Regions from separate parts of the Homo sapiens genome. Here regions 1, 3, 4 and 5 are each linked to region 2. The links are contacts of gene promoters, found by promoter capture Hi-C in blood cells and fetal thymus (Javierre and others, 2016). All regions are on one chromosome and are shown on one strand. The core of a region is centred on a gene start or on the middle of the fragment in contact, and the rest is flanking DNA. Distances in the headings are between cores, read along the strand shown.

What was found. The method cuts DNA at HindIII sites, captures the fragments that hold promoters and counts their contacts. A CHiCAGO score of 5 or more calls a contact.
Region 1: a fragment that was not itself captured here is called in contact with the fragment with the promoter of LDHC in region 2 in 4 of 17 cell types (activated CD4 T cells, naive CD8 T cells, non-activated CD4 T cells and 1 more); the score reaches 6.5 in activated CD4 T cells.
Region 3: a contact is called between a fragment that was not itself captured here and the fragment with the promoter of LDHC in region 2, in 1 of 17 cell types (total B cells). The highest score is 5.4, in total B cells.
Region 4: a contact is called between a fragment that was not itself captured here and the fragment with the promoter of LDHC in region 2, in 1 of 17 cell types (naive B cells). The highest score is 5.4, in naive B cells.
Region 5: a contact is called between the fragment with the promoter of IGSF22 here and the fragment with the promoter of LDHC in region 2, in 11 of 17 cell types (total CD4 T cells, naive CD4 T cells, non-activated CD4 T cells and 8 more). The highest score is 14.1, in total CD4 T cells.

What each region holds. Positions count from the first base shown.
Region 1 is chr11:18,754,500-18,760,427 of GRCh38, forward strand. The region is part of intron 3 of PTPN5 (protein tyrosine phosphatase non-receptor type 5); the gene reads right to left. Among named protein-coding and RNA genes, the nearest start is that of IGSF22, 31 kb to the left of the region's middle. The HindIII fragment of the contact is 230 bases long and covers 3,350-3,579 here.
Region 2 is chr11:18,409,855-18,415,199 of GRCh38, forward strand. It overlaps LDHC (lactate dehydrogenase C), which reads left to right and starts at 2,464. Exons shown (of 8, transcript NM_017448.5): 1 at 2,464-2,554; 2 at 2,855-2,989; 3 at 5,330-5,345. The coding sequence starts at 2,864. The HindIII fragment of the contact is 7,298 bases long and covers 1-4,470 here.
Region 3 is chr11:18,090,810-18,096,612 of GRCh38, forward strand. SAAL1 (serum amyloid A like 1) reads right to left here. Exons shown (of 12, transcript NM_138421.3): 4 at 1,436-1,515. Among named protein-coding and RNA genes, the nearest start is that of SAAL1, 12 kb to the right of the region's middle. The HindIII fragment of the contact is 258 bases long and covers 4,205-4,462 here.
Region 4 is chr11:18,113,786-18,119,323 of GRCh38, forward strand. It overlaps the pseudogene SAA3P. Among named protein-coding and RNA genes, the nearest start is that of SAAL1, 10 kb to the left of the region's middle. The HindIII fragment of the contact is 2,382 bases long and covers 1,770-4,151 here.
Region 5 is chr11:18,723,851-18,729,119 of GRCh38, forward strand. IGSF22 (immunoglobulin superfamily member 22) reads right to left here and starts at 2,338. Exons shown (of 23, transcript NM_173588.4): 1 at 2,224-2,338; 2 at 278-419. The coding sequence starts at 386. The region is part of intron 2 of IGSF22-AS1 (IGSF22 antisense RNA 1); the gene reads left to right. PTPN5 (protein tyrosine phosphatase non-receptor type 5) reads right to left here. Exons shown (of 15, transcript NM_006906.2): 15 at 4,078-5,177. The coding sequence ends at 5,084. The HindIII fragment of the contact is 7,417 bases long and covers 111-5,269 here.

The DNA of each region.
Region 1 (5,928 bases), core at 2,215-4,714, 350 kb after region 2:
CAGCCCCATTAAGATCCCTAGGGTTGGGTCAGCCCCATGTTTCCACCTGCCAAGTTGAACCAATCAACCCAAAGGGTGGTGACTCAACTCAGAGGGCCCACTCTCTCACCAGCTATCACTCTTGCTTGGCAAGGATTAATTAGTATTTTGGAGTGGCCAATCATTTTTTCTTAATGATTTTAGAAAATACGAAGACCTCCCCCTACAATAAAAGCATAAAGCAAAACCAAGTCATCCATACTCTTGCCTCACTGAGAAAGGCGTTGTTTTCCTTTTGATGTACTTTTCTCTCATTGTAGGTGCACTTTTACCTCGTGCATCGTTTTGTACGTAGGCATATCCTGAGACTATGCCTCTTTGGATTACAAGGATTCAACTTTTAAGCAATATGGCAGACAGCCTCCAAGGTGGCCCTCAGTGAACCCTGCCTCCTGGTCTTCACATCCTTGTGCAGTCCCTCCTACGTGGTACCAGGGTTAGTCTTCATGACCAACAGCACACAGCAGAAGTGAAGGCATGTCACTCTAGGATTAGGTCCTAAGAGACTGTGACTTCCATCTTGGACACACTCTTGCTCCCTCGTGTGCTCTCTCTTGGATCACTCACTCTGTGGGGAACCAGCTGCCCTGCAGTGTGGCCACTGAGGCAGCTCGTGGAGTGGCTTGTGTGGCGAGGTACTGAGACCTCTGGCCCAGAGGCTGCAAGGAACTGGAGCCTGCCAATCACCTGTGAGTGAGCTTAGAAGTGGATTCTTCAGCCACAGTCGAGTTTGGGGATTATTGCAGCCCTGGTCAACAACTTGAGATGTTGTGAGAGATCAGGCCAGACTGACTTAGGCCATGCGGCTAAGTCATTCCTGGTTTCCTGACTTAGAAACTGTGGGGGATAAGGAATGTTGTTTTAAATTACAAAGTTTTGGGGGTAATTTGTTATGTAGCAAAATATAACTAATGCAAGCGGTTTTATCCCTTCCTCAGGTAATATGGATTTTCATAGCAGGCTGTATTCCCAATGAGGAGAGACAGGCCTAAGAGGATGCGGGTTGCCCTGCTTCTGGATACCAGGACCCACTGGGAGGCTAACTCAAGACTGGCAGAGGGTGGCACTGGGCTGGGTAGAGGACTGATGCACAATTCCAAATGGTCTTGCTTGTGATTGATAAGGGGTTTGCCTCAAGCTAGGTGATGTTCAACAGGGATATGGGAAAAAAGATGATCTTTTTTGGGCCTGACGCGGTGGCTCACTCCCGTAATCCCAGCACTTTGGGAGGCCGAGGCGGGCAGATCACAAGGTCAGGAGTTCGAGACCAGCCTGGCCAACATGGTGAAACCCTGTCTCTACTAAAAATACAAAAACTAGCCAGGCATGGTAGCATGTGCCTGTAATCCCAGTTACTTGGAAGGCTGAGGCAGGAGAATTGCTTGAACCCGGGAGGTGGAGGTTGCAGTGAGCCGAGATCGTGCCACTGCACTCCAGCCTGGGCGACAGAGTGAGACTCTAAATAAAAAAAAAAAAAAAAAAAAGATGATCTTTTTCAATATCTAATAGTCACGTCAGGCACAGCCCAAATAGGGCTGAGATGGGGTAGGCTAGTGACTGGTCCTCAGAAGAAGGATGCTGTATGCAAAGCCTTGTCTTGTTTAGGAAAATGGTGTGCAATGGGAAATTCTGGGCAGGCTTCTCATCTGTATTTTAAAAGGCAACATTACCCCAGCTGACATCTGGCTTATGTCTGGTTCAGACAGCCTAGTTCCCTCTTTGCTGATAACTCTTCTTGGTCCCTTACATCCTTCACTTTTTTTTTTTTTTTTTTTTGAGACAGATTCTCACTCCGTCACCCAAGCTGGAGTGCAGTGGCATGATCTCTGCTCACTGTAACCTCTGCTTCCCGGGTTCAAGTGATTCTTGTGCCTTAGCCTCCTGAGTAGCTGGGATTACAGGCACAAGCCATCATGCCTGGCTAGTTTTTGTATTTTCAGTAGAGACAGGGTTTTACCATGTTGGCCAGGCTGGTCTTGAACTCCTGACCTCATGTGACCCACCCGTCTCAGCCTCCCAAAATGCTGGGATTATAGGCTGAGCCACTGCACCCAGCCCATCCTTCAGGTTTTAACCACTTGGAATTAAAAAGAAACAGCACCGGCCGGGCGCGGTGGCTCACGCCTGTAATCCCAGCACTTTGGGAGGCCGAGGCGGGCGGATCATGAGGTCAGGAGATCGAGACCACCCCGGCTAACACGGTGAAACCCCGTCTCTACTAAAAATAAAAAAAAAATTAGCCGGGTTTGGTGGCGTATGCCTGTAATCCCAGCTACTCGGGAGGCTGAGGCAGGAGAATTGCTTAAACCCGGGAGGTGGAGGCTGCAGTGAGCCAAGATCGTGCCACTGCACTCCAGCCTGAGTGACAGAGCAAGACTCCATCAAAAAAAAAAAAAAACCAAAAAACAAAAACAAAACAAAAAGAAACAGCACCAAGGTCCTAATAAACATCCCCACCTGTCCCACACATCATTTTCATATGTGTGTGTGTGAAATTCCAAAGTTTAGAGATGTAAAGTGATTCATGCAAGATCCAAGCTCAAAAAGGGCGGAGTCCAAATTCATTCACATCCAGGGCTTCTGAATCCGACAATAAGAAACCATAAAAAAATGAGCTGTGAATAAGACTTTATGGTTTACAAATCCCCATTCCCATCCATTGTCTCACTGAATTCTTATAACTACCATGAAAAAAATTGCTTTTCTCATTTCACAGTGGAAATGCCTCATGGGAGGGATGGAGCAGTGCAGGGTTTGTCCAAGCCCATCAGTGAAAGGCAATGCCCAATACAAGGGCAGACACACTCAGCACTGTCTTTACACCCAGGAAAATGTCCCTCATCCTGATCTCACACTTTGAAGGGCCCTGCTCCAATCCTCCATCAGGTATGCTCCTCCTCACAGGTAAGGAGTCCAGGGAACCAAAGGGACATTCTCCCTGTAAGGCCACATATTCAAAACCCCAGATTCCCTGGTCAAATGCTCCTCAGCCTGATTCCTGGACCTGGTGGCCCTCTTTTTTGACTGCTTCATGAGAGTACACTGTGCTGTGTGTATTCCTAGAACTGGCTAAGGTGACTGTTTGCAGAAGGTGTGTTTGGAGCTCAGATGTGTGGGCTGGGGTACCCATCTACCCAAGTGCTCATGAGTGTCCTTGTGGTGCTGGACAGAGCAGGGGTGGACTGGAGACTGGCTTTCCCTAGACCCCATATTTTGGTGCAGAACTCAGAATTCTCTATTTGAACCTGGCTTTTAAACTCCCTACAAATGAATATTCGTCAGAGTGGAAGGACAACATATTTCCTTTCAAAGCTTATCAGCTTGCTTTCGAACAGTTAGCTATCTAGACATAACATATACAGCCTTACAAATGTTAGGGGTGGGACTGCACACAGCTGTGCTCTTTGAAGTAGCAGGGAGGAGAGCCAAAGAAAAGAGAAGAGCAAAAGAGCCGAAGATTTAAGCAACAAAGGGTCAGTAGCTCAAATAGTGGAAGGTTGGGGAAAAGAATGAGACATGGGATGAAGGCCAAGGGGAGGAAGCTTTAGGAGAGGATGAAGCTAGTGTTAGGAGGAATGTGAAAGCTTATAAAGAGGATGTGCTGGTGGATGAAGGATGGCCACAGATTCTCTGCACTCCTCCTATCAAGAGGTGGCATTTACTTCCCATCCCTTGGATCTAGGCTGACCCTGTGACTGGCTTTGATCAACAAAATGTAGTGGAGTGACATTGTGTAACTTCTGGAGCTGGGCCTTAAGAGATCTGAAGCTTCTTTTTTGCCCCTCTTAGAGTGCTCCTTCTTGGTAATCACATAAGAAGTCCAACTACCATGAGACCATCATGCTGTGAGGAAGCCCAAGGTAGGAGCACTGAGGTGCCAGACATATAATAAAAGCTTTCTCCGACATTCTATCCCAGCACAGAATGAGGTGTGTTCAGCTGAATGAGTGACCTCAGCTGATGCCACATGGAATGGAAGAATCACCCAGCTAAACCCTGCATGACCCTCCAAGTCATGAGCAAATAAAATGGTTGTTGTTTGAAGCCACTAAGTGTTGAGATCGTCAGGCAGCAACAGACAACCAAAACAGATGCTGAGATCTGAAATGAAGAAATGAGCTTCAATGGAAGGATGAGTTTTTTTTTTTTTTCTTCAGATATAAAGAATTCCTGAGAGCTGGGGTGATTTGTCCCTGAGCCAGACCAAAGAGAAAGGTAATGGCATCTGTCACTGCATATGTTAGGAGTACGATGGATGTCCATTTGTCTAAAAGGGCATTGGCATCAACCTTTGAAGATGCAGGGGACTGGACCAGATGCATTCCTTCTTTCAGTTGCAAAGACTCTCTTTAAGTGTCATCACACATCCAGGCAACTCCCTAGAATATGAGAACTGTTTCTATCCTGGTGAAGGAAAACGGAGGATCATTCTCCCCACCAACCCTGGCCCCTTAAATATGTAAGCATAAAACACTCCTGCCTGTGGCTGTGCTGGTTCAGTGAGGTCTCAGACCTGTGGTGGGGAGTCAAGAAAGGACCACCAGATACACTACCCCACTCCACTGCTGTAGAACTGGCCTGGACCTGACGCCCGAGCCCCAGGCACAGGAACACAAAGAAAGAAAAAACACAAAGGAAAAAAAGGTTTTTTTTCTGTTCACATTCCATATCCTGGAACAACCATCACCGTCACTATTAGCTATCATTTATAGAGCACTCTGTAATAAGCACTTTACGTCCATGAACTCAATTAATCCTCACAAAATCTCTGTGAAGATGTCATCATATTACTACCCTTATTCTAGAGTGAGGAATTTGGAACTCACAGCAGTTAGATAATTTACCACAGGTCATGCTGTTGGTCAATAGCAGAGCTGGGATTTGAACCCAGCTGCCTGGCCATAGCACCCCAAGGCCTAGCTAGATGGGCTCCATCCTGGTGTCTGAGAATAGTTAGCCTCTACTATTGCTGACCAGTGGGCACCTGGGATGGTACTTCTTTTCTCAACACAATGGCATCGTTACAGAATACTGCCCAGTTAGTGTTCTTAGCACATCCAAATGGTGTTTCGTTTATACTTTAATTATCCATTCTGAAGACTCAAGTAAAAAACTCATCGTACCATCAATGACAATAAATATCTCTAAATGTATTTGAAGTCTTGAATGAAAACAGAACCATCAATTCAACAAAGAAATAAAAATCAACAGAACCTCTACCACTGAGTGTTGACAGCTACCGGTGACATCTCAGCAGTACTACTACAACCAGGTCCATCTTCTGGAGGTTTGTCCATTTGGGCTTCTGCACCTGCCCACAGACCAGCTTAAACCAATATAAGCACCACTCTGGGGAGCTTTGTGAAAACAGGGGCTAGCAGATCAGGGATGAGGCCCATTATGAGGTAAACCTGCTCCTTAAAATGCTTGACACAGCAGGTTCCTGAAGACATGAATCGAGACCCTATTCATGTTCTAGGTCACTTCTTAGAGGAAGCCTTCCCTGACCCACCAAGATAGGGTTGCAAAATGGCTGTACCCTTCCATGGCACCCTAAACTCTTTAGGAGCAGGGACCATGTCTGTCTTGCTTGTCACTGTATCACCAGTGCCTGGCAAGCATGGAGCATGGAGTAGGTGCTCAATAAAATTGAGTGGATAAAAGAATCAGGCTGCCTTTTCAACTGCCCTTGTTGGCTACTGGTCCAAGACCTCATCTGTGGCATGGTAGGAAGGCTATGAAAGCTATGACTTGTTCTTTCCTGCTGGTCAGAGATAGGCGCTGCAGGATTAGGGTGACAAAGCTTTCCTTGATTCAGGCCTCCAGCTCCTTTACTTTAAAAAGTGGCACTCGGGATGGGCAGTGGCCTCTTGCTGAGACCTAGACCTT
Region 2 (5,345 bases), core at 1,214-3,713:
AAATAAAACTCAGTACTTCAAAGCCATGTTCTTTAAAAATTCTTTAAATTTTTTTTTTATTTTGGCCAGGTGCGGTGGCTCACGCCTGTAATCCCAGCACTTTGGGAGGCTGAGGCGGGTGGATCACAAGGTCAGGAGATTGAAAACATCCTGGCTAACATAGTGAAACTCCATCTCTACTAAAAATACAAAAAATTAGCTGGGCATGGTGGCGGGCGCCTGTAGTCCCAGCTACTCGGGAGGCTGAGGCAGGAGAATGGCGTGAACCCGGGAGGCGGAGCTTGCAGTGAGCCGAGATCGGACCACTGTACTACAGCCTGGGCGAGACTGCGAGACTCTGTCTCAAAAAAAATTATTTTATTTTATTTTGTTTTTATTTTTGGGGGTAGAGATGGGGGTCTCCCTATGTTGCCAGACTGGTCTTGAACTCCTGGGCTGAAGCCTCGGCCTCCCAAAGTGCTGGGATTGCAGGAGTGAGCCACCATGTCTGGCCCAAAAATTCTTTAGTGAGTACCTACTATGCTTTGGTAAATGTTGCAATGTACAAGAATAAATAAAGACAAATTTTGGTTCTAAAGTTACTGCAATCAAGTAAGCAAAATGTTAAGTAAGTTTGGAGTATTTGGGCAGGCATGGATGAAGAGCCAGTTCTAGTCATCTAGCATCAGTTTGGCCACTACCAAGCTGATACCTTCCTTGGCCGCCAGGGGCCTGAGGCAGGTGTAGAGCTTAAATTTCCAGTCCATCCAGGCCAGCAATCTCCCTCTCAGCCCGGGGATAAATGAGGTTGCTGTGGAGGTATAGGACCAAGTGGTTGCTGCTCCTGTCTGCTATAGGAGGCCTCTAGCTTCAGGCTAGTTGCTGGTTGAGAAAAGTGCCATAAGAGAGAGATATACAGGAAATGATGGTAGTTGACATTTGTCAAGGAAAGCCAGAGTATGTATGTGCAAAGCTGAAAATGAGGAATTAACCTTGAGAAGGGCTGGGGAAAGAGCTTTCTTGGTTTAAAGAACAGCAAAAAGTCCTGATCCAAAAAAGCTGTCCAAAGCCTAGTTGGAAGGAAGTGTATTGAGTGTCCTGAGATGATATGGGAAGTGGGGGTAGGAGGCCAAATCTTGAAGATCTAGGTTGTGGTAAAAGTGGGTTACTCTACCTGTAATGGAAAGCCACGGAAGAGTTTAAAGCAGGGTTATTGCATAATCTGAACCATATTGAAAACAAATACTGACTGGGTGCGGTGGTTCACGCCTGTAATCCCAGCACTTTGGGAGGCCGAGGTGGGTGGATCACTTGAGGTCAAGAGTTCGAGACCAGCCTGGCCAGCAAGGTGAAATACAAAAAAATACAAAAAAATTTGCCCGGCGGCTGGGCACGGTGGCTCAGCACGGTGGCTCACGCCTGTAATCCCAACACTTTGGGAGGGCGGATCACTAGGTCAGGAGTTGGAGACCATTCTGACCAACATGGTGAAACCCCATCTCTACTAAAAATACAAAAATTAGCCGGGCGTGGTGGCGCACGCCTGTAGTCCCAGTTACTTGGGAGGCTGAGGCAGGAGAATTGCTTGAACCCAGGCGGCGGAGGTTGCAGTGAACTGAGATTGTGCCACTGCACTCCAGCCTGGGCGACAGAGTGAGACTCTGTCTCAAAAACAACAACAATAACAACACTACAGGCTATTATAAGAAAAATAAATTATATTTTGGATTTTGAAAAAGGTTCAAATGCAAATACTCTACAAAAGATGGAGTAGGTTGTGTCCCCTTCTGTGAGATATATATCTCTCTCACAAAAAAAAAAATATATATGTAAATTTTTTTTGAGATGGAGTTTCTCTCTTGTTGCCCAGTCTGGAGTGCAGTGGCGCGATCTTGGCTCACTGCAACCTCCGCCTCCTGGGTTCAAGCGATTCTCCTGCCTCAGCCTCCCAAGTAGCTGGGACTACAGGCATGCACCACCATGCCCGACTAATTTTATATTTTTAGTAGAGACGGGGTTTCGCCATGTTGGCCAGGCTGTTCTCAAACTCCTGACCTCAGGTGATCCACCTGCCTCGGACTCCCAAAGTGCTGGGATTACAGGTGTGAGCCACCGCGTCCGGCCATGAGTTATAAATATTAACAATTTCTTGCTGTAAATTGAAAGCATCCTTCGCGTCTTTGCGTTTCATTACCACCCTCTGTTCTCTCAAGAGAAATTCTAACTTTATTTCAGCACTCAGTCCTGAAGTTACAGAAGTTAATAATTTTTTAAAATCCTGCAAACAATGCATGGATATCCCCGTCTTGCACACTCTTTGGGCCAGTCTAGAATTCTTCCCATCAGCATTTCGGTGATCTGGACCGCCGCCACCCACACTGCGCTCCAGGGCAGAAAAGACGCCCCATGCCCGCGCCTGGGCCGGCGGGGGGCGGAGCTTGCGTGCTGACGCATAAGAGCCGAGCGGGGGAACGTGCGTGTCTCGAGTCGCACGGAGGGCAACCGTCGACGGGCTTAGCGCCTCAACTGTCGTTGGTGTATTTTTCTGGTGTCACTTCTGTGCCTTCCTTCAAAGGTGGTGCTTTGTCCCTGTGGGTCATCTGTACTGATTGCGCCAAGCAAAGCATTTGTGAGCGTGTGGTGCTGGGGTGAAAGTGGTGGCTGGGGGCAGGGAGAAATCCAAAAGCCCGCTGGTGCCCCAGCCCTCCCATTGCCTGGTAGACTGGGCCTTGCTTTACCCTCCCCGCATCCTTTGACCAGGAAATTCTTTCTTTGGCTTCCCCCCATCCCCGGCTCCAACATTCTGCAAACTGAAGAGGTAGTTTCTTAGATGTTCAGTGTGGTTAATCCAATGAAATTGCATTATCCCTATCAGGTTCTCCAAATGTCAACTGTCAAGGAGCAGCTAATTGAGAAGCTAATTGAGGATGATGAAAACTCCCAGTGTAAAATTACTATTGTTGGAACTGGTGCCGTAGGCATGGCTTGTGCTATTAGTATCTTACTGAAGGTGAGTGAGAAGCCCATCCTGTGGCTGAAAATCAAGTGAGCACTTCAGAGTGTTGTATATGTCGATGTATTCAGGGTTGCAAGGTTAATCCCTTGAAAGCAATTATGTATCCTTTGACCTTTCCTCCCTCCCTCCCTCCCTCCCTTCCTTCCTTCCTTCCTTCCTTTTTCTTTCTCTCTTTCTTTTCCTTTTTTTTTAAACTTCTTCTTTCTTTTCCTTTCTTTTTTTTTCTGACTTTCCTTTTCTTTTTCTTTTTTTGAGACAGGATTTGTCTGTTACCCAGGTTGGAGTGCAGTGGCGCGATCTTGGCCCACTGCAACCTCCACCTCCCGGGATCAAGCGATTCTCCTGCCTCAGCCTCTTGAATAACTGGGGCCACAGGCATGCACCACCAGGCCTGGCTAATTTTTTATATTTTTAGTAGAGATGGGGTTTCTCCATGTTGGCCAGGCTGGTTTCGAACTCCTGACCTCAAGTGATCCGCCTGCCTCGGCCTCCCAGAGTACTGGGATTACAGGCATGAGCCACCACACCTGGCTGCCAATAGGTATTGTTTTTAACCCTTGTGCCCTCCTCCCTCTCTGCTTTTGGAGTCCCCAGTGTTTATTGTTCTCTCTTTTTTTTTTTTTTTTTTTTTTGAGACGGAGTCTCGCTCTGTTGCCAGGCTGGAGTGCAGCGGCAGGATCTCGGCTCCCGGCAACCTTTGCCTCCCGGGTTCAAGCAGTTCTCCTGCCTCAGCCTCCTGAGTAGCTGGGACTACAGGCATGTGCCACCACGCCCAGCTAATTTTTATATTTTTAGTAGAGACGGGGTTTCATCATGTTGGCCAGGATGGCCTTGATTTCTTGACCTCGTGATCCGCCTGCCTCAGCCTCCCAAAGTGCTGGGATTACAGGCATGAGCCACCACGCCTGGCCTTAAGTAGGGACTTTTACTTCTTTCCCTTACTGTTCGCTTTTGGAATCTGGCTATTGAAATCTGAATGAATACACTCCTTGTATATAGTTCCGTACTCTGTCACATGTGACAAAAACCCAGTTTAAATTAGGGTAAGCAGAAAAAGACGAAATATTGTTCATGTAACTGGAAATAGGGCAAAACTGCTTCAGGTACTACCGGATTCTGAAGTTCACACATATCAAGACATAGTCTTTGTATATCTTGGTTTAGATTTTCTCTGTTGGCTTAATTCGTAGAGCCTTTCTATGTGGTGGTAAAGATGGCTGTACAGTTTGTTCTTAGATTCTTGTTTTTTCTCCAACTCTACAGTCCTTACTAATGTTCTTAGATTTGCATGTTATTCTTAGAGCTTATGATTCCAAAGAAAAGTGAGATGTAATCTTCCGTCTTCCATTTTCAAACTTCATAGACATGCTTGTTTCTTATACCTGGGCCATATGTCCACTTATGAACTGATTTCTGTGACCAGAAGGAAAGGATGGAACAATTGGCTAGGTCTGGTTTTATGCCCATCTACCCTAAGCTTGGAAAACCAATGTTAATTGTACTGCACTGAAACATATGGAATGGGTTCCCATGGAAAAGAGAAATTCTATTACCAGAAAAAGGGACACTAGACAGATGAAAACAATAAGTGTTCATCAGAGGTGGTTACCTTCCTGTTTGGGCCATAACGACGCATACTAAAAGCAGCTTTAGCCAACTCAGAAATTAGGGTTAAGGTTAAATATAATAAAATCCTGGCCGGGCGCAGTGGCTCAGGCCTGTAATCCCAGGACTTTGCGAGGCTGAGGTGGGTAGATCACTTGAGGTTAGGAGTTTGAGACCAGCCTGACCAATATGGTGAAACCCCGTCTGTACTAAAAATACAAAAATTAGCCGGACATGGTGGCGGGCGCCTGTAATCCCAGCTACTCGGGAGGCTGAAGCACGAAAATTGCTTGAACCTGGGAGACGGAGGTTGCAGTGCCCGAGATTGTGCCACTGCACTCCAGCCTGGGCGACAGAGTGAGACTTCATCTCAAACAAAACAAAACAAAAAACACAAAAATAAAGGCTAAATATAATAAAAGCCTTTGAAATCATTTTATTTTCCTTGGTTTCAAACTGTTATCTGAATGGCAAAAAAAAACAAAAACAAAAAACACCCAGCTCTAAAAAGTTCTAACAATTATATGAAGTCAAACAATTTTTGCTACATCTTAATATTTACTTACCTTGACTTTCGGTCACCCAGGCTCATTGAAAAACTATTTTTATATCATTTTTCCCTATTAAAATATGAGATTCCTTTAATTATCAAGTAGCCACATGAAAATTCTTCTTATTCTCCTAAAACTTAAGTAGGAACATTTTATTCAGAACTTTTGTATATTTTAGGATTTGGCTGATGAAC
Region 3 (5,803 bases), core at 3,084-5,583, 320 kb before region 2:
TATTTTGGTGTTGCTTTATACTGCAGGTAAAAGGATTAAGAGGACATGCTGAATAAATAGACATAATCTGGGAGGTTATTTGGATTCATGAAGACAGTCAAGGAGGGGAGACAACATATGAAATAAATTATACTTATTGAGTCTTCATTTATTTGCTGAAAATTATACATGTAAGATCTACCCATGTTGTTTCTTTAGCTGTTATTCTTTGACAGACTGCTGCAGAGCACTCCATTGTGTGAAAATAACACAATTTATTTTTCCAGACTACTGTTGATGGACATTTCTGTTGATTCCAATTTGGGGCTATTTCAAGCAATCCTCCTACAATATTTGTTAAGAGTTATCCTGATGCACACGTGCACAGTTTCTCTTACCATATATGCCCACTATGAGCTGGTCACAGCACATGCATATGTTCCAACGTGACCAGATAATGCCCAACTAAAGTGGTTCAACAAATTTATATCCCATCAGCAATATAAATTGCACCACACTAATATTAAGACAAGCATTTAACTGAATTTATAACATTTGTTAACATTTCTCATTTTTGGATTTTTGATAGAGAACATTAGAGACCAAACATAATCTTAAGTCATTTGTTCCATGGATGATGGTAAATTACTGAGGAATAAATACTCTGAACTAGGATCTTAAAGTCCCTCCACAACTAGGAGTTCTCTCTTTCTGAGAAACCCAGGTACTTGAATCCTGTGATAAAACCCTCATGGCCCCAGCTCTGACAAAAACTGCCTAGAACAGTTTTCTTAACCTATTTTGGGTACAAATTTCTTTGAGATTCTGATTAAAAGCCATGAACCCTTTGCCTAGAAAACTAATACACTCACAAAATTCAGCATATAATTTCGGGGTGTTCTCCGAACACAGTAACCACTGGGGTTTCCTCCATTAAAACACCTTCTGCCCAGAACTTTACACATGGAGAAGAGAACGAGCCTCGAAGCAGATATCTGAAAGTCTTTTCATCAGAGAGGCAACCCTTTATCTTCCAGTTGTTGGCAAGTCTTACACTCTAAGTCAGAGCTCTCAGGATGACATTATTCAACAAATCTAGTTTCTGTAGACTCCAGCTGAGTCATTGGATTCCCTGCCCCTAAACTGTTTTGGATTCCAGTTGGCTGCCCCATCTCCAAGTTTTGGCCCACTGGTTCTTCCCCTATCTGGCTTATTGCCACCAGCTGACAATTCAGGTTCCTTTGCTACTGAAGAAAACAGGCTTAAATCCTGAATCATTTCAGTATCTCCTGAAGAAGCCCCTAGCTATCATCAACACACAATGAAGTTCCCACAGAGTGTTCATCAAGACAAAGAAAGGACTGTCTTTCAGATTTGCTACTTTTCCTATGTATTAGAATTTCCTTAAGGATATAAATGAATATATTAAAAAACATAATTATATAGTAAGACTTACCCAAGATTTTTATCACTGCTGATGGACACACATATCTCCTGGAAACAGGCCATATTACCTAAAATTCCCACACAGATTTCCTGCCAAATCAAATTTTACAAGTCACAATGGCTCTGAGACGAAAGACGTAAACAAAAATATCAACTTGAACAAAAACTTTCGCTGAGCCAAGTTTTGGGGCAAGGCGGAGGGGAGGCAGGATAAAGAAATACATATACTGCCTGTACCCTAACCTTGACAAGCTTACAGTATTTGAGAAGGGATGAAAAACGTAAGAACAAGAAAGGGCAAAGGCAGGAGCTATGCGAGAAGAACTTCTATCGATAAAATGAGTTTTAAATGATTGATAGGAATGAGATATGCAAACAAAAAGACAGACATTCAAATAAGGGGAAAGTATCAGCAAAGGCAGGAAGGGAATCATGTACATGGCGAATACTGTAGACAATAAAGTACTCTGGTTGTGGCACAAAGTGGGTGAACAGCATGAGGTAAATACTGCAGGTATAAAGGACTGAGATTAAGGGCTCTGAATGCCGTGCTGAAGAATTAGACTTAATCTGGGAAGTTATTTGGAATCATGAAGATGCTCAAGGAGGGGAGACAACATACTGAAACAGTATCTTAGGAAGATTACTCTGGTGGCGAAATGCATAATGTATTAGTGTAGTCCCTCTTTATCCATGGTTTCAGTTACCCATGGTCAACCTTGGTATAAAAGTACTAAATAGAAAATTCTAGAAATAAACAATTCATGTTTTAAATTGCATGCCTTTCTGAGCAGCACGATGAAATCTTGCACCGTCTCACCCAGGATGTGAATCATTCTTTTGTTCAACATATCCACACTGTATGTGCTGCCTGCCCATTAGTTACTTAGTAGCCATCTTGGCTATCAGATCGACCATCGGGATATCTCACAGGGCTTGTGTTCATGTCACCCTTATTTTACTTAATAATGACCCCAAAGCACAAGAGTAGTGATGCTGGCAATTTGGATATGCCAAGGAGCCGCCATTAAGTGCTTTCTTTACATGAAAAGGTAAAAGTTCTTGACTTCATAAGAAAAACAAACAAAAATGTATGCTGAGGTTGCTTAGGATCTCTAAGAACAAATCTATCCATGAAACTGTGAAGAAGGAAAAGGAAATTTGTGCATATTATAAATAGGGTTCAGTACTATCCTCGGTTTTAGGCATTGGGGGCCTTGGAATGCAACCCCCAAGGATAAGGGGAGACTAGTGTATAGGGAAAAGAAGTTGAAAAGAACTTAAGAATCTATCTCAGTAATAGTTAATTAATATGTAATAACAGTTTATTACCACTCACGGTGGCCAGGCATTACTCTAAGCATTTTCTGTGTATAATTTCATATAATAACTTAGGTGATAGGTACTAATAGTATCCCCATTTTTTCAGATGAGGAAACTAAGGCACAGAGAAGTTAAGCTACTTGCCTAAGATCTTAAGATCTCCAACTAGAACACGGCAGAGCTCCAGAGCTTGAGCATTTAACCACTATTCCAAACTGCACCTCAGTTATCAAGATGCAAGAGGAGGAGGGCCCTCAGGCATGGAAAAGGATGAAGCTGAGGAAGACTCTCAAGGTGAAAGCAAAATAATCCAGTGTGAGGATAAAGGAGAAAGCAGTTGAACTTGACTCCTAGCTTTCAAGTTGCCTCATTTCCCCATCAGTGATATTGGTCCCGTTGACAGGAAAACTAAAAAAGAAAGTGCATAAAAGGCTACAATGAGTTCAGATGGTACAGTGTTTCCAACCTTGCTGGAACATAAGAATCACTCAGGGAGCTTGTTAAAAATACAGATTTCCAAATCTCATCTCAGATCTACTGAATCATAATTTCCAGGGTAGAGCCTGGAAAGCTATTGTTTACCCAGCATATACCAGGTGACTTTTATGATTAGATAAGTGTGACCATAAATCACTGAGGACATACAGAATTCAGGGTTAGAGAGTACAGCTGACCCTTGAACACAGGTTTGAATGTGTGGGTCCACTCATAGGTGGATTTTTTCTAACCAAACTTGGACTGAAAATACAGTGTCCTCAAGATGCAAAACCTGCACAATATGCAGAGCTGACTTTTCATACACACAGGTTCCACAGAGCTGACTGCTAAATTGAGTATGTGTGGATTTCAGTATGGGGGAATGTCTTGCAACCATCCCCCATGTATACCAAGGGACAACTGTAGAGCGTGCAAGCAGAGAATGCCTGAACAAAGTTGGAGATGTGACATCAGTTATCAGAAGGGAAGTCGAGGCTTTGCTCCTACAGGCAGAGTTGCAACTTAAAGGTGTAAAGAACACATAAGTTCACTAGGAAAATGAATATAATGAGAACAAAGGATCAGGGCCTACACCTTAGAAAAAGTCCATATTCGGGACAGTATAAAAAAGGAAGAAAGAAAAAAGCCAATGAAAGGTGAGAGACGAGTGACTGAAGAGGTCAGAGACGACAGTGAGGTGACACAGGAGCTATAGAAATGGAATTTCAATAAAAAGTGGGTGGTCAAATGTTGGGAAAAGATTAAGAGTGAGTAGGGGCAGAAAAAAACCACATACATTTCCCTTATAAACTAAAGAGGGAATAACTGAACTTCCAATCAAAGATCAAGTTTTTCTTGGCTGTTCACTGGAATCACCTGGGGAACTTTAAAAGCTGCCCAGAGTCTCACACTTGGAGATTCTGCTTTAACTCATCTAGGGTATGGCCTGACCAAGATTTTCAAAAGTTCCCTAGGGTAAAGCTTCTCAGAGTGTGGCAATGCACCAGAGCACCAGCATCACCTGGGAACATATTAGGAATCCTGGACCTACTGGACTAGAAACTCTGGAGGGAGGCTCGGCAATTAGTGATGCGGGGACATGCTTAAGTTTGAGAGTCCCTGTCCCAGGTGATTCTAACATGCAGCCAAGGCTGAGAATCACTGTGGCAGCAGACGGTGGCCAGCGGATATAATACAACAATATGACTAATTCCTAAAAGGTGCCATTCCTGACATAAGCTTATTTCTTTATATACTAGTAGTGAGTAAATATATTTAAGACAGAAAAACTCAGTATAAAAATAGCATAATCATCAAATCTTATATTAATATAAGGAATCAAGGAAAAAACGGTTAATCAGGCCCTAATTCAGAGAGAACATTCTACTTAAATAAGAATTCTAATTCAACATTCAATTTGTAAAAATACACTATGGAATTCTCCATTTTATAATCTGAAAGAGAGGAAATACAGTACAGTGGTTATACTGAAGTCAGGCCTAGGCTGAAATCTCAGCTCCATTCTTTCCTAGCTGTGTGACCCTGAACACATATCTTCACCCAAGATTTAGTTCTTTGAAAGTATACCTCATAGTAGTAAGACCAGGTATTCAGTAAACAGCAGTTTTTCATAATTATAATTATTGAACAGATATTTACTAATCCATGATATGCATAGCACATGGCAATTTAATTGGCAATAAAGCACAGTACACTGCACAGTATATAAAGGCCTCTCCTTTAGTCTTTATCTATTGTTCTTGGCAGTTTACTAACAGCAATGACTACTGAAAGCTTACTTACTTACTTGGGAAGGTGTGGAAGGAAAAGTACCACTGTGAATTAACAGATGCAAATACTGAGAGGGGACAGAAGGCACACAAAGGGAGGCACGGAGACAGCATGAGACAGGGAGTAGAAAGGTCTGGCTAAATCAGAAGGGTTACCTGGCTATCCAGATTTTATGCTGGAAAGATGAGTTAGGTTCAGAGAGTAGAGGTCTTAAGCAGCAGGCTGAGTTTAGAATGGTTTTCAAGCAATGGTGGATTTTGTCAGTAAAAAAGAGAAATCAACTGAAAAATGGGAGGCCCAGGCTCTGTTCCTTGTTCTGATACATACTAGCAGCATAACAGTGGTTATGCCTAACTCGTCTCCACAGCTGGTAAATGAAAGTGCTAATTTCCCTGGTCCGGCCTGAATCTAAAATTCTATGATTTTCATAATTTTAAATTATTAAATTATTAATAATTTAATATTTTAAATTATTACAGGCATTTAGCTCACGCTTATAATCCCAGCACTTTGGGAGGCCAAGGTGGGAGGATCACTTGAGGCCAGGAGTTCAAGACCAGCCTGGGCAACATAAGGAGACCTTTGTCTCCACAAAATAAAAATAAAAATTAGCTGGGTGTGGTGGCTTACACCTATACTCCCAGTTACTTGGGAGGCTGAGGTGGGAGGGTCCCTTGAGCCCAGGAGGTCAAGACTGCAGTGAGCCGTGATCACGCCACTGCACTCCAAGCCCTGGAGACATAGTGAGACCCTGTCTCAAAAATAAAATAAAATAAATTTAAATAGC
Region 4 (5,538 bases), core at 1,711-4,210, 300 kb before region 2:
TGTCAGAATTCAGTCAGCAAGTGATAAAGGTGAGTTACCTAAGAAAGCTTTATACTACTGGGTAATCAAATTCAGAAAAAGGACAACTGACCCACTAGTTCAGAACCTCAATGTCCTCCCCAATGAAATGGAGGAGTATTGCCTGCCTCACAGTGATTATGCAGAAGAGCAGAGAAAATACATGTATGATGTCTAGAACATTGTAGGTGGCCAATATATTATCATTTCACTTCTCTGGTCCTTAGGAAAGGTGGCATAAGAAAAAAGAAGGGCTAAACTAAGATGAGGAGCAGGGAGTTACGGACTGAAGGGATCTGATCAAGCTAGAATTAAGTGACGAAGATTTTTTAGAAAATTAACTGATTACGGAAAAGGGGGAACTCAAATATAGAGTTATAATCATGGTTTATATAATTTCTCTATTAGATAACTCATCTTCATTTTATGCATTTATTACTCCTGGTGTTAAATTGATTGCTTTTATTGAGAGTTTATGACATTTTTACTCTACTTATTCCTCTGAGTTACTGACTTAAATGGCTCCTTGATGTTCAGATTGGCTTAATAAGTACTTCCAAAATTCCTGGCACATTTTATCACTTTCAGCAGCAAAACAAGAGGTAGTGGTTCTCAACCTTTGCTGTGCATAAAAATCTACCGAGGTGCTTAGCAAAGGCAAGATTTCTAGGCTCTGTCCCAAGAGACTGTGGCTGCTGGGGGCAGGGGGTAGGGTATGGACCCGGGAATCTTCATTTCATTTCACAAAGCATCCCAGAATCCAGGTGATTCTCACGCAAGTGGTCCCAGAACAACCCTTTGAAAAATATTAACCTAAGGAATGAAAGATATTTGTAGTTGAGTGTGTGAACATGTAAATAGGATTAAAAGCAAATCCTTAAAACCATTTTTCAGAGACTCAGAAAAATAATAATACCTGAAATTTAAAATACTGCATTCTGAAAACAAAATTTTGCCACTTTATTATGGCTAGTGGGGTATATTTCTCCCTCTCTCTCTCTCTCTGTCTCTCTAGATGGAGTCTTGCTCTGTCTCCTAGGCTGGAGTGCAGTGGTGTGATCACAGCTCACTGCAACCTCTGCCTCCTGAGTTCAAGCAATTCTTCTCCCTCAGCCTCCCGAGAGGCTGGGATTATAGGCGCATGCCACCACACCCGGCTAATTTCTGTATTTTTAGTAGAGACAGGATTTCGCCATGTTGGCCAGGCTGGTCTCGAACTCTTGACCTCAGGTGATCTGCCCACCTCAGCCTCCCAAAGTGCTGGGATTACAGGTGTGAGCCACTGTGCCCAGCCCTCGGGGTATATTTCTCTTGCTAGCAGTTTCCTGGCCATATATAAGCCCCAGTAGAACCACCATCAAGGTAATTCACTGTAGGTTTTACTGGGATAAGTGGAGCTAGACTTACCTTCCAAAGGCACCACATCCTATTTGCCATTTCTTAGATAAAGGATGAGCTATGTGTTCACAAATCCGAAACTCTTGTTTTGAAAGCAGCAGAGTACCTTGATTAAGAGCAAGTTCTGCAGAGCAAGACTGCCTGGGTTAATCCTGCTCTGCTTTGGAACTTCTTTACGTATCTTGGGGTTTGTGTGTGTGTGTGTGTGTGTGTGTGTGTTAGTGTGTGTGTGTGTGTGTGTGTGTTAGCTTCTCTGTTAAGGGATAATGCTGCTTGCATCATAGGACTAAATGATGGAAACCAATTCATTAGTACATTTAAACAGTGCCTAGTACGTATTAAAATCTCAGCTAAGCTTGGTTGTTTTTATGGGGACGGTTGGCTCCGTTCAGCTTCCCCATGGACTCGCCTCACACTTTTGATCCACCTGCTTCCTGGCTTCCCAGGAGACATAGACATGAACTGTCCCAGATTTCCCACTAGGGGGCAGTAGAGCCCCACCGGTATTATGGGAACATGCACCCCTCAACTCCACATCTCTCTCATGGTCCTGCTGAAAAGAGGCAGCTCACACCTTATGCGACCTCGGCTGGAGGATCCTCATAGAAGAGTGTCAAAGCTGTCCAGAAAAGCATGAGGAACCACGCTTATGAAAAACCATGCCCCTTCTCTATCCATCTGTGGCATCACTAGCACCTTTGCCCAGTGGGGATGTGGCCTCTGCTCAGCTGCATCCTGGGGGCAGCCAGAAGCAGCCTCCTGCCCCCTATCCTGTGGACCTCACCTTGGCCAGCTGCCTTGAGGAATGTTAACCATCCTTGGCTGCTGACACCCAGGACCAGGGAGCAGAAAATGATGCCAGTGGAGAGCTTCATCCTGCTGCAGGGCCAAGGAAACACAACCAAGGATAATACACATTCTGTTTCAAGTTTTTATTTTTTGTAATGTTAGTCCATTCTTTCATTCCAAGAAAAAAACCCACTCGGTTTTACACACGCACACACACACACACACACACACACACAGGTGTATGTGTATAGATAAAAGATAGAAGGTCAGAGGGTCTACGTCTCCATTTCCATTTGTCTCATTGGAATCCCAGTATCTGACAGAAGAGGAGCAGTGACCCAGGATAAAGCAAATAGACAAAAGTCACACCATGTTTGAGAATCATTATTTTAGATTAGAGCCTGCCAAAATTAGGAATTATGCCTCTTTCTGGGTTCTGAGCATATTTTAGGCACAGTAAAATGAAAGTTATAAGGCAGATAGCTGTCAGAGGATTTCCCTGTCCCTTTGGTTCTTATCTAAGGCAATGCTAAGCAACATTTGAATATTCCCTACACAACTTCCATTCCTTGGAAAAGGTGGGATTCCCTGTGGTCAGTGTAGTATCTGAGCTGGCGTGGCTCACTTGGTCCCAGGAGTAGACAGTAGAAGAGGGGGAAGAGGAGGGGAGTTGTCAACCATCCACAGCCACTGGTCATGGTGTACTTGGAGGAGCTGCTTCATAAAGCAGGGCATGTGATGTCCAGACCTCCTTTTTCCTACTCTTCTTCAGGCAGAAATTGAGGGCCAATGATCACATCCTGTCACAATTATTTTACTCCCTTTGGAACCATTCAATGCTGGAAATCTACTTTCTCGTTTTATTCAAGTCATTCTCTTCTTTGATAGAAGTTGATATGGTTTGGATCTGTGTCCCCACCCAAATTTCATGTTCAATTGTAATTCCCAATGTTGGGAGTGGAGCCTAGAGGGCGGTGATTGAATCAGGAAGGCTGTTTCTCATGAAAGGTTTAACAGCATCCCCCTTGGTACTGTCGTCGTGATAGTGAGTGAATTCTTTTGAGATCTGGTTATTTAAAAGTGTGCAGTACCTCCCCCCTCACTCTCTTTTGTCCTTGCTCCCACCATATGAGATGCCTCACTCCCGCTCTGCCTTTGCCATATTGAAAGTTTCCTGAGGCTTCCCCAGAAGCAGAAGCCACTATGCTTCCTGTACAGACTAAAGAACCATGAACCAATATAACCTCTTTTCTTTATAAAGTACCCAGTTTCAGTCATTTCTTTATGGCAGTATGAGAACGGACTAATACAGAAGTATTAGAAAGCAAGTGGCGTGGAGACACTGGCTCATGCTTATAATACCAGCACTTTGGGAGGCTGAGGCAGAAGGATCACTCGAGGCCAGGAACTCAAGACCAACCTGGGAAACATAGCAAGACCCCATCTCCACTATATATCTGTATATATATTTTTTAAATTAGCGGGGTGTGGTAGTATGCACCTGTGGTCCCAGCTACTCAGGAGGCTGAGGCAGGAGGACTGCTTGAGCCCAGGAGTTGGAGGCTATGGTGAGCCATAATCACACCACTGCACTCTAGCCTGGGTGACAAAGTGACACACTGACTCACAGGAAAAAGAGCAAGAAAGCGAGTATGATTTCTAGATACCAAGAGGAACTCCTCACAGGGACTTTGACAAGCCTTGCCTGTTTTCTTCCTTTGTTACTTAATGTATTCTGCCTTCCGGGAAGGTACACGCAGTTTCTTATGGTGCCAAGCTGAGAATAATAGACAATAACGGCAGTCAGTTCTTTTCACTTGTTTCTCCTGAAAAAGAAAGATTTCCTGTCATGATATCAGAGTCCCCAGGCCTTAAAGGGATTTTCCAACAGTCTCTTACAAGTGACTACGTGTGCTGGTTTGCATGAGATCAGTGTCTATTGTCCAAGCTTAATAGTGGCACATCTTTTCATTGTCTACAATGGCCTGGATTGAACAGTAAATCAGATGGTAGCACTACTCTGATAACCTTGTGTGACCAGGCTGATTGAGAGGCCCAAGACACCTCCATTCTTTTAAGTTACAATTAATTTAAGTAGAAGAGGAGAATACTAAGGCTTAATTCTATTAGGAATTAGAAAAACAAAAATCAGAAAAGCCCAAAAGTCCACAGGTATCATGACTAAGAATGACATCTCAGACCTAAGCCCCAGTCTTAGAAGACCAGCGGGAAGAACTTTATATTCCCTAAATATAAAATGAAGAAAATAATGATACAAAATCACTACCCTCAAAAAATTCACATTTAATGAATCCTAGTTACCAGAATAGTAGATATAGGAAGGATGCAGAAAAATACAACTCCCTTGTAGGGTTGTTGTGAGGATTAAATGATTAATGCTGACAGGGACTTGGGTTAATTCTGGGCACGTGTAAAGCATTTAATTAATTTTAGAGCTTCCACCTTAACCAAGAAAACGCATAATAATTTATATTTTCCAGGAGACAGAAATATTAATTACAATATTGTTACCAAGGCAACCTATTATTAAGACATTAGTAAGTAAGATTACCAATTAGAACTACAGTTATAAGGACCAAGGTTTATTTTCACATAGTGTCAGAGACGTTTGAACCAGAGCGACTCTATTTGGCATGAGGGCTAGGAAAATGAGGCTGAGATTGCTAGGCTGCGTGCTCAGAAAGTTAGGCATTCCTAACCTCTAGATGTTTACAGTTAAGGGAACAAATTCGTAATGTTTACTAAACAGACCCAGACTTGGGAGTGTGCAAATATCCCAATATTTGGAGAACAAAGACATTCCTAATTTTTCTTTGAAGATAATAACATTGGCCGGGCGCGGTGGCTCACGCCTGTAATCCCAGCAATTTTGAAGGCCCAGGTGGGTGGATCACGAGGTCAGGAGTTCGAGAGCAGCCTGGGCAAAATGGTGAAACCCCATCTCTACTAAAAATACAAAAAGCAAAATTAGCTGAGTGTGGTGGCACGCGCTTGTAGTCCGAGCTACTTGGGAGGCTGAAGCAGGAGAATTGCTTGAATCCAGGAGGTGGAGGTTGCAGTGAGCCGTGATTGTGCCACTGCACTCCAGCGTGGGTGACAGAGTGAGACTCCATCTCAAAAAAAAAAAAAAAGATAATAATATTGATTCTTGCAAAATATAGTAATTAAGAAAACAGGGCTGGGTGCGGGGGCTCACGCCTGTAATCCCAGCACTTCGGGAGGCCAAGGCGGTGGATCACCTGAGGTCAGGAATTCAAGACCAACCTGCCCAACATGGCAAAACCCTGTCTTTACTAAAAATACAAAAATTAG
Region 5 (5,269 bases), core at 1,088-3,587, 310 kb after region 2:
CTCCTTCAGCAATTAAGAGTTTATCAATCATTCACACACATCCACATGATTGATCTTTTCTAAGCTGTTTTCCTGGAGATCTGATCTGTGTTGAACATCCAGCTGGCTGAAGCTTTAACAAAGCCAAGATTAGAAGCACACGTTGGGTGGGGGTTGCTGTTGGTATTGTGGGCTCCAGAGGGGCCCATTAGTGGCAAAACTGGGGCCACCCAAGGGATGGGTGTGGAGGAAGAATAGCTGCCCTTCCCGATCCCTTCCCTGCCCCCATTCCACTTGCCTCCCACGATCTTGGTTGTCTGGGAGAAGGTCTGCACGTGGGTGGTGGAGCTGGAGAACTCCATGGACACGTGCTCCTGCAGCATCTGCCGGCTGTGAATGGTTGTCATGGTGACAGCAGGCGTGGGCACTCACCTGTGAGACTGGGGAAGAGGATGAGGCCATGAAGGACAAGACAGGGAGTAGGAGGGAGATTCAGAGATGTTATGTGTGTGTTCAGACATAAGAGGAGATGGAAGCACACAGGAGAGGGCCAGGAGAGCAGTCGAGCTCTCTTTTCTTCATTTCCTAGCTTCCTTTTCCTGGTTAGTTACCAGACCCAATAGGCCTGTCCTCTCACTGAGTAACTCCAAACTATTCCAGGGTCTCAGAGGGAGAGGTTATAGGGCTTAGACTTACCCAGCCAACCAAGTAAGGCCTGGAGGGAGTTGAGGATACCTATTGATAGCTACATGGCACTAAGGAGGCAGTGCTGGATGTTTCATCAGGAGGGAATGCAGTCAGACCTAAGAAAGAACTTCCTGACTAAGCCATACTGGAGTGGGCTTTAGAAGGAAGCTGTGTCTCTTATTCCTGGGCCCTGGGGACCCCGGCACTGGTGGAATGCTAAAACAGATGACAAAACATCACTACAATTCTGCTTGTGTTTGCGACATGGTAAAGGCAAAGGTTTAGTTTTTCTTACATTTTTCTTTGAACTGGTAATTCAATCACATAGTTAAAGAATAAAACAATATAAAAATCCATATGGACAGGCTCCCTCCCACTCCTGCGTCTATCTTACAACCTTCCCCATTGCAACAGGTAGCCAGTCTCTAGGCTCCTTCTAGACCTCCATCATGCAAATAGGAAAACTCATGTGTTCTTATCATCTTCCTTTTTTTTTTTTAATTAAAAAAGCACATAAGGTAGCCCATTATACACACTATTCTGACCCTTTCTTTTTTCATTTAATGTGTCTTGGAGATTTTTTCCATACCAGATGATAGCGTTTCCTCATTCCTGTTCAGAGCACCATGTTTTCTCAATGTTTTATTTAACCAGCATTGCGGTTTTTTTTGGGTGATCTCGGCTCATTGCAACCTCCTCCTCTCGAATTCAAGCCATTCTCCTGCCTCAGCCTCCCCAGCAGCTGGGTTTACAGGCACGTGCCACCATGCCCAGCTAATTTTTGTGTTTTCAGTAGAGACAGGGTTTCATCTTGTTGGCCAGGCTGGTCTCAAACTCCTAGCCTCGATTGATCCGCCTGCCTTGGCCTCCCAAAGTGCTGGGATTATAGGTGTGAGCCACTGCATGTGGCCAGCATTGCAGTTTTTTTGTTTTTGTTTTTTTGAGACAGAGTCTTGCTCTGTTGCCCAGGCTGGAGTGCAGTGGCACGATCTTGGCCCACGACAACCTCTGCCTCCCAGGTTCAAGCAATTCTCCTGCCTCAGGCTCCCGAGTAGCTGGGACTACAGGCACCCGCCATCACACCCGGCTAATTTTTTGTATTTTTAGTACAGATGGCGTTTCACTATGTTGGCCAGGCTAGTCTCGAATACCTGACCTCGTGATCCGCCCACCTCAGCCTCCCAAAGTGCTAGGATTACAGGCGTGAGCCACCGCGCCTGGCCCAGCATTGCAGTTTTTAAAGTCCTATTTCGTATATGAGGAAACTGATGTCTGAAAGAAATGACCTGTCCAAGGTCACTCAGACTAGACTCCTAGCTTTTGACTCCAGTCCAGTGGCGTCCCAGAGGGCTCCAAAGCCTTCTTTAACCCAGGTAGTTAGGGGTTAAACTCTATTCCCTCTCTCCACCCCCTAATATATCTCTGCCTGGGCTGCTTCTACCTTTGGGTTCTGAGACTACTCCCCTGTTCCTATTCCTGCCCTCTACCCTATAGTCCCCTCTGGGCTCAGAAGGTGGTCAGCTTTGTCCCCTTCCTGAGGGAGGAGGGGAGCCTTACCTTCAGCACTGACCAGTCCCTCCCAACACTCGAATGCTGTGTCCACGGCTTTGGAGGCTCAGCTAGTGCCTGGACTGTAGGGTGGCCCGTCTCCTTCTTCCTTTGCCCCAACAGTGAGGCTACCAGTGTCATCTGTTCCTTAAATGTCTGGCCCCCTGGGGGCGATTCCTTAGTCAGGCTCTGCAGCTGTCTCAGCTAGATGGCACACTGCTTGGTTGTGGGGGGAGGGGGAGGGCGGTGGAGAAGGGAGGCGGGAAGCAAAGCTGGATCCAGGCTGGGGGAAACACTGAAGGCCAGGCGGGAAGGAGGCTGAGGGTGGCAGTCCAGGGGTACTTTTTTTGTTCCCTTGTGGTACAGGTTTTGGCTCTCACTGCTGCTGGGTAGGACCTCTCTGAGCTGAGGGGCTCAGGGTAGTGTGTGTGCACAGGCACACACTCAGGTACAGGTGCATGCATAGTCCAGCAGGGCTCAGGGAGCAAAGCAACAGGTCTGTATTTTCCAGGGACTGGGACACGGTGAACTGGGGAGGGCCTCTGGGATCTGCTGCGTTGCTACACAAATCCAGGGGTTCCCATTCATGTTGCACTCCTATGTGTGGTTCATACACAGCCTGAGTATCTTTACAAGGCCACCCTGGGGAAGAACAGGGAAATGTTAGGTCTCCTTCCTCTTCCCACTTCAACAGCCCAATCTCCCTAATCTGGGTAGAAGAGTAGGAGGGCCCATCCTCCGGGGGTTGTGGGGAGGTCTCTGCTTGAGGGTGACTGGAGAGTATGGCCACCTCTTCTCAAGGACTTCCATCTGGGCTGCTTCAGCCACCTGTTGTTTTCTTTTCTTTTCTTTTTTTTGAGATGGAGTCTCTGTCACCCAGACTGGATGCAGTGGCACGATCTTGGCTCACTGCAACCTCTGCCTCCCAGGTTCAAGCGATTCTCCTGCCTCAGCCTCCTGAGTATCTGGGATTACAGGCGTGCACCGCTACGCCCGGCTAATTTTTGTATTTTTAGTAGAGATGGGGTTTCACCATGTTGGTCAGGCTGGTCTCGAACTCCTGACCTCATGATCTGCCACCCCTCGGCCTCCCAATGTGCTGGGATTACAGGCGTGAGCCACCGTGTCCAGCCCACCCTGTTGTTTTCTCATCATCTGTAGCACACCCCGCATGCCTGGACCCTGGATCCCACCCAAGGTTCTGGCACCTTGTAAGGACTTGTTGGTCAGCACCCTTGCCCTGGACCCCTCCTTCTGCCCTGGGGTGACCCCCACCTGCCAGCAGTGGCATCATGGCTACTTTTGCTCCATCCCAGGGGGGCAGGGGACAAGAATAGAGCAGGAGTGTCCAGGATGGCTCAGGATCTCAGCCCACATGCAGATTCCCTGGGCCCCTTGGGAGGAGCTACTCTGAGCCCAGGCCTTACAAGGGAAATTACTGGGCTGCAGCTGCTGTTGGGATCTGTGGAGCTAACATGGGATAAGAGTTTGGCCAACAGGGAGGGGCCTGGGTGTGACCTGAATGTCTCCTTACCCTAGCCTTGGCTTCTCTGGCACATCTGTTGGAAATGGTGACCTGCCAGCCACTGTGCCTTCCCTGGAAGCCTTCCACACCTGTCCTTGAGGCTCCCCATGGCCCAGAGCATGTGTCAGGGCCAGGGCTGAGGCTGTGTGAGAATCCTGCAGAATGTTCCCAGTTTGGCTTTACAAATTTGGACTCGCTCCATACTCCCAGTCTCCACAAGGGGCTCCAGTGAGCAGAAGGGCCAAGCTCACTGTGCTCATGCTGGGGAGGGGCACAAAGACCCAAGTACAGGAAGGAAGGCAGTGGAGGGGAGAGGCAAATCACACAGACCCAGGAGGTTAGTTTTGCTCAAAATGCTCCGTTTATTGCTCTATTCAATGACCACGAGCGAATTATAAAAAGACACCAAATGTCTCTGTCTGCCGTGGGATAAATATTTAAAGTCAGCAATAAAAACACGTGGCTCCAAGATAATACATGTTGCCAAAGAGTCATGCATGCCCTCCTGATGGGCTCTCAACACACGCATGGACATGGGAACACACGCAGAGCAACACGCAGTGAGACTTCTGGGAAGGCTTTCCCACAGTGACACAGAAAAATGTCTCACGTAGATCTGGGCTGAGTCCCCACCCAAACCTTGAGCTCCCCTCCCCTCCCCAACAGGGCCTAGATCCTCTGGGTTCTCCATGCCCCATCTGCCCCCTACCTTGCCAGTGCCTCACAGGCTGGGCACCCTCCTGAGAGCATCTGACACCCAGAGGCCACCCTGGCTGTGATGCCCACTCCAACCTAGAGAACTCTCCCTCAGCTGAAAGCTCTCTGGTGACCTTCTGGAGCTCCCCATGCCTAACTCCCCGTCATCTGCCTTTTGGGAGAAGTGCGGGTGAGGCCGAGGCAGGCAAGTCCGGTTGCTTAGGGGCTGGAGCTCATTACCCCTTCCTGGCTGAGGAGACACAGTGTCCGGTACAGAGGGCAGAGATGGATGGACAGACAGAACACATTGCAGCAGGACACAAAGTGTAGCACGGAAACATTCTGGATCAGGTATTGATGGAACCATCGTTAAAAACTGGAGCCCGGGGTCTGCGTGGTGTGGGTCAGGCCCCGGGGCCCCAGGCCTGGCCTGGCATGTCCCTTCCCGACCCTGCCCCCCACTCCCCAATATGTACAGTAGGAAGAGCAATGCTGGAGGGTAGGGGTCAGGCCAGGCTGACAGAGGACAGAGGGAGCTGACTGAAGGGGAGGAAGCGGGGAGCAGGCCCAGGACCCGAGGCAGGGCCCTGGGTGAGGGCCGAGACTCAGGCTGGGCAGTGCCCAGAGAACCTTGTAGGAGAAGCGCAGTCATTCTGGGGACTGGTGGGACAGCTGCTTTTCGTAGAGGCTCATGACGTGGTGCACAAACTGGTACTGCTCGCATGTCTGGATCATGCCGCCCCTGCCCGGCAGAGATGCACAGTGGGGGCAGGGTCGTGGAGGGATGGGCTGTGGGAGGTGCCCCAAAAGCCATGGAGTAGCAATCACTTGCCA